Linked DNA regions of Homo sapiens: region 2 is linked to region 1. Evidence: promoter capture Hi-C in 16 types of primary human blood cells and fetal thymus (Javierre and others, 2016). All regions are on one chromosome and are shown on one strand. Each heading gives the region's core, a stretch centred on a gene start or on the middle of the fragment in contact. The rest is flanking DNA. Distances are from core to core; before and after follow the strand shown.

Region 1 (2,700 bases), core at 68-2,567:
AAACATGGTATTTTGTTTTCATAAGGGCCATGAGCCAAGCATATCTCCTGTCCCCCTCCTTCCTTCCTTCTGTGCGCCATTCTTTTTCTGTTTCATTTTTCCTTTTTGGATCCCTGCTTGGGCACTCTAATTGCATGGCCTCAGCCTCAGCCTCCTTGCCTCTCCTCTGGCCCGAATGCTTCTCCAAATCTAGCGACATGAAAGCGGAATTAGGGGTTGACTAGATCCCGATAGGTCATCATCCATAAGATGCCAGTGGAAAAGGTGCCCATTCTGGGAGCTGCAGGTCACTGGCTTCCCATTGCAGACCAGGGAGGCCCTTGAGCCAGCAGATCACCTCTGGGCTCTTGGCCCACCAAGTAGTGGTGGGTCTGTAAGGAGGGAACTTTGCCGACTTTCCCTCCAAAGCTCAAATCTCCCAACCCACAATCACTTCAGAATATCATCCTTGCTCCCAATCTGAGGGCCACTAGAGACTCGGAGAAGAGGCCCCGGCAGGCCCTCGACAATGGGCACCTGTGGTCGATCGACAGCCCCTCCAATGTGGCCGCTGTGACGGCTCTACGTTGACATTCAGGCAGTGTGATTTTAGGTAGCGCCTCTGCCCCTCTCCCAAGTGACCCCGGGACCCCTGGGAATCTCCAAGAACCACAAGGAATCTCTGTGACTTGCCACGTTTCTTAATCAGTTTCCTTCCCCACACAAGAATAATAACAACAGGAAAAGACAGAAAAGGATGATAAGAGGATAGACTCACTTCCACAACAACAACAACAAACAATAACACCACCACAACAGGGAAAGACAGAAAACGATCGAGGGATAAAGAGTTACTTGCGCGGTTCCGCCGCCACCTCCGGGCCGCGCCATTAAGCGCCTGGAAGCGCAGGGCGCCGGGGAACCGCAGCGCCCCGGGTGCGCTCGGAATCCATTCTGCCGCCCCCGCCCCCGCCCCCGCCCCGGCCACCTCCGCTACAGCAGCCGCCGAAGTCGGGCGGGTCACCCTCCCGTGCGTGCCCTGCCGCCATTTCCCTGGAGGGAGGGCAGAGGTGCCCCCTCCTCACCCCACCCCTCGCGCCCCTCACCGTCCTCCGGGTAGAAGAACACCAGGAAGCGGGATGGGCTCCTGGGATCCTGGCGGACCTCACACTCGCCGCCTCCCGACCTCTTCGGGCTCTGGAAGTACATCTGCAACTTGGTGTTCAAGTTCTTCGGGGGGTCGGGGCCCCAGGAGCCCTCGACCAGCAGCGGGAAGGAGCCGGGCACAGCCATCCTCAGCTCCGCTCTCCGCCGGACTGCAGGGGCCGCGCCAACTCCGGGCCGCTAACTTTGACTCTTTCGCTTTCGTTTCCTGGAAAACTCCCAGGCCTTGGTTTCCTTTTGCCTTCAGCCTAACACAGCGGACCCAGGAATGGCAGAGTCATCCCCCGCCCACCTCCCCACCTTCGCATTCGGCCCACAGCCAAGGCCAAAGTAACCCTTTGGGGCTGGCCAGCGGCGCCCCGGGAAGGCGGCCTCAGTTCACCTGTGCTCCACGGGCTCCCACACCCCCTCCTAACTCCGGGCCCCCTACCTGCCGCTCGCCCCAACCGCAGATCAAGTCGGCAGCTTTGGGGCACCAGACCTTGCCCAAACGCAAAGATCATTTAATTTTTGCCGCAAGCCGACCCTTTACAAAAGAATAAAATGACTCACAAACTGTGGCCCCTTTAGAATGTTTGCTGCCTATTTGGGGACTTTTTCAGCAATCATTGTGATTATCAGAATTTTACGTTGCTTTCCCTGTTTTGCTTTCTGTTCCTTGATCTGTTAATACTACATGTCTAGAAATGTGGGGGAAACAATTACACTCACAGTTTTTTTTGTGGAATATTTACTAGGCGCCATGCACTCACTCACTGAACCCTCGCTGAGCTCACGGAGCTATGGTGAACACAGTGGGCAATAGGTGCTCTGGGAAAGAATATACTTGTGTTCCTGGAACAGATGAGGAGTGGCTCCTAGTCCAGCTGTGGCGGCTCAGGGAGGGTTTATAGGGCGGTGACATGTAACCTGATAACCCCAGGATATCAGGGGATAGCCTTGGAGGGTTAGGAAGTGGGGTTCCACGGTGTGATTCACATGTACAGGATCACTCCGGCTGCTGCGTGGTGGCTAGAGTGGAGGCAGAGAGATCAGCCAAGTGGCTACCATAGTGTCCTAAGTGAGAGACAAGGGTGGCTGAGACTGGGGTGCTGGCAGAGAAGAACTGAGAAAACGAGGATTCTCAATTAATAGTGAAAGCAGGACTTGCTGAAGAATGTGAGCCTTGAGAGAAGGAGAAGCTCAAGGATGACTCCATGGTCAGCCATGGATGGCCCGTGCAAGTGGCTGGATAATAGTGGCATCTGCAAGAGGGGAGGCCGAGTGATGGGAGAGAAGCTGGGGCTGTGTGTTTCCTTGACCCCAAATAAAGCAGTGTTGCAAGTCGAGGGGGGCGGGGGGATTATCATTCCAGTGCTACCGATACCTCAGGTCAGAGAAGTGTCTGCTGGACTGCTGAGGAGCGGCAAGCATAGTCTCCTGGTGAGGAGGGAGGAGAGGGAGATGGCAGCTACTGAAGACTGAAAGGGAGGGAAGGAAGTGGAAGCAGAGAGCGTAACACGCTCTTTGCAGAAATGTGACCGTGAAGGGGAAGAAGGAGCCAGGCAGTAGGTTGTG
Region 2 (2,761 bases), core at 33-2,532, 260 kb after region 1:
CATCAGAACTTAATTTAAAAAAATTATCAAAGGTCAGATGTGACTACTACAGTAAGTTGGCTATCATAAAGAATATTCCATAAAATGTTTTATCTGCCATACAAAATTACTGGGTTTATGGCCGGATGTGGTGGCTCATGCCTGTAATCCCAGCAGTTCAGGATTACAGGTTATATACAGGTTATAACAATGGATACCAGGACATCAGAATATCTGATAAAGCAAATATTTATATGCTAATTTAAAATATCAAATTGCTACTGGACATAAAATACATCTGGAAGCTTGGGGTAAGAAGAAAGAAAAGAAGTGTTCCGTTCTGTTTTCAACTAAGGGTAAACGAAGTCCCAGAGTGTTTTCCCTGTAGGTCAAATTAAGGTAACATGTCTTTATTTGATCATCTATTGTACACCAGATACCTGGCTAAGGGCTTTCCTTTTTTCTCATGTAGTCTTCCAAATGTTCTTTGATAATTGTCACTATATTATAGATGACAAAGTGAAGACTTACGAGAAATTACTTTGCCCCAAGGTTACAACACTTAGATGGCTGTCCAAGGGCGGGGAAGAGCCCTGCAAATTCTGTGTCTTGAAGAAAGCAGTGGCCACGCAGTAGTTCCGTGCCCAGGATCTCCCAGAACTAGACTTGGCAACCACAGCTGGGCCAGCCTTTTTTGTTAGACCATTCTTCCTGACTCCTGCTTACCATCAGCACCCTTAAAATGACGAAATCAGGCTTAAGTTGCTTTTAGGTTACACAGACTGGAGTGTAGGCCCTCTCAGGCCAAACATCTTTCCTCTTCTGTGGTGCTAAAATTCTGTATGACCAGACAAGTATGGTAATAGGTTTTTTTTTTTTTTTTTTTTGTGCAAATGATTTTGTGTTTAGTAAAATAATGGCTAAACACATGGATCCATTCAAACGCACAAATGTGGAAAGTATTGACACGGAAGGAAAGGCTTTGAAGAATTACTGCCTCAGGAAGCAGTGCCATGGATGCGAATTTAACACAGTCTACTTCTTCCTAAAGGAATATCATCCCAAGGAATGTCAAAAATTAAAATCACCTTTTAATGTACTGGTTGTTGAGTGTTTCTGCTTTACCTCAAGTCATTCTGACCACTCTACATCCTGCTTCAAAGTGTTCTGACACTTAGATTTGGAATGGCTCTAATGATTCTTTGTACTTGAATGTGGTCTGTCAGGCCATGGGTGAGTGCCTTGCACATAGTAGACATTCAATAAATACTAAATGAAGGAATATGCATGCATCTTTGTGATGTTAGTAAAGGGTGCTTGATAAAAGAAAATTCAAAGGAATTCCCTTATGCTGTTACTTGAAACCAGGATCAACATCTTAAGCAAATGTCTCAACGTGTTTTATATGCAGTTACTTTTCAGAAGACATGATTTGACCTGAAGTTTACAAAATCAAACATTGTCATAGCAGAGGTCTGGTATTTAAAAACAAACAAAGTGTCTTAGAAAAGCTAGTGGCCGGGTGCGGTGGCTCATGCCTGTAATCCCAGCACTTTGGGAGGCCGAGGCAGGTGGATCACGAGGTCAGGAGATCGAGACCATCCTGGCTAATATGGTGAAACCTCGTCTCTACTAAAAGTACAAAAAACTAGCCGGGTGTGGTGGCGGGCGCCTGTAGTCCCAGCTACTTGGGAGGCTGAGGCAGGAGAATGGTGTGAACCCAGGAGGCAGAGCTTGCAGTGGGTGGAGATTGCGCCACTGCACTCCAGCCTGGGTGACAGTGCAAGACTCCATCTCAAAAAAAAAAAAAAAAAAAAAAGCTGATGGGTATATTTTACAGTAAAGAAAAAAATTTATTAATATCCAACCGACGTGGAAGCTGCTGGTTGCCTTAGGCTATTACACAGGGATTTTTCCTTTTTACATATTGTATGTATTGCATAAGTGACAGATGAGTAGAAACAAAGATGATTTATTTCTTCACTCCATGACTGCTTCTCTTCTATTTTGTTGAAGAGATTCCACTGACCAAGTATTTTATTCTGAAAACAAAGAACATTTGAGGCAAAACATAGCCTTAGTTCCTGCAGACTACATTGTTTTATAAATCGTACAAAATTACTGGGTTTATGTCCAGACGTGGTGGCTCATGCCTGTAATCCCAGCACTTTGGGAAGCCAAGGCAGGCAAATCACTTGAGGTCAGGAGTTCGAGGCCAGCCTGGCAAACATGGCGACACCCTGTCTACTAAAAAAAAAAAAAAAAAAAAAAAAATTAGCCAGCCATCGTACCACAAGCTTGCAATCCCAGCTACTCAAGAAGTCGAGGCAGGAGAATCGCTTGAATCCGGGAGGTGGAGGTTGCAGTGAGCCAAGATTGCACCACTGCACTCCAACCTGGCTGACAGAGCAAGACTCCATCTCAAAAAAAAAAAAAAAAAAAAAAAAAAAAATCACTGGGTTTACAAGTTTATTAAAGATAGCTTGAATGATTGTTGCCCCATTTCACTTGCATTTTGAAGGAGTCATTGTTTTCTCTAATTTTAAATTAATATACAGTCATTTCTGTGTTTTTTTGCAGAAAGTAAAATTACTCATTCTTATTCATATCCACTTAACCTGCAGAAGGCCAATGTAGTCCGCTGGGAGTCCTCAATAAGGATCACTGCTTTACCCATCACTTGGGCTGGGCATTATTAAGATACAGTGATGGGTAAGGAGAAAACAGAAACGCAAAAGACCGTAATGGGTGGTGAGAGAACAGTACCAGGTTTGGGAGAGAC

The links. The method cuts DNA at HindIII sites, captures the fragments that hold promoters and counts their contacts. A CHiCAGO score of 5 or more calls a contact.
Region 2: a contact is called between a fragment that was not itself captured here and the fragment with the promoter of PARP14 in region 1, in 1 of 17 cell types (activated CD4 T cells). The highest score is 5.9, in activated CD4 T cells.

The regions. Positions count from the first base shown.
Region 1 is chr3:122,679,456-122,682,155 of GRCh38, reverse strand. PARP14 (poly(ADP-ribose) polymerase family member 14) reads right to left here and starts at 1,317. Exons shown (of 17, transcript NM_017554.3): 1 at 1,086-1,317. The coding sequence starts at 1,272. RefSeq lists enhancers at 579-668, 1,210-1,609, 1,034-1,806, 2,210-2,329 and a silencer at 920-969. The HindIII fragment of the contact is 13,941 bases long and covers 1-2,700 here.
Region 2 is chr3:122,420,451-122,423,211 of GRCh38, reverse strand. It overlaps KPNA1 (karyopherin subunit alpha 1), which reads left to right. Exons shown (of 14, transcript NM_002264.4): 14 at 1-1,310. The region is part of intron 1 of WDR5B-DT (WDR5B divergent transcript); the gene reads right to left. Among named protein-coding and RNA genes, the nearest start is that of WDR5B-DT, 5.6 kb to the right of the region's middle. The HindIII fragment of the contact is 1,992 bases long and covers 287-2,278 here.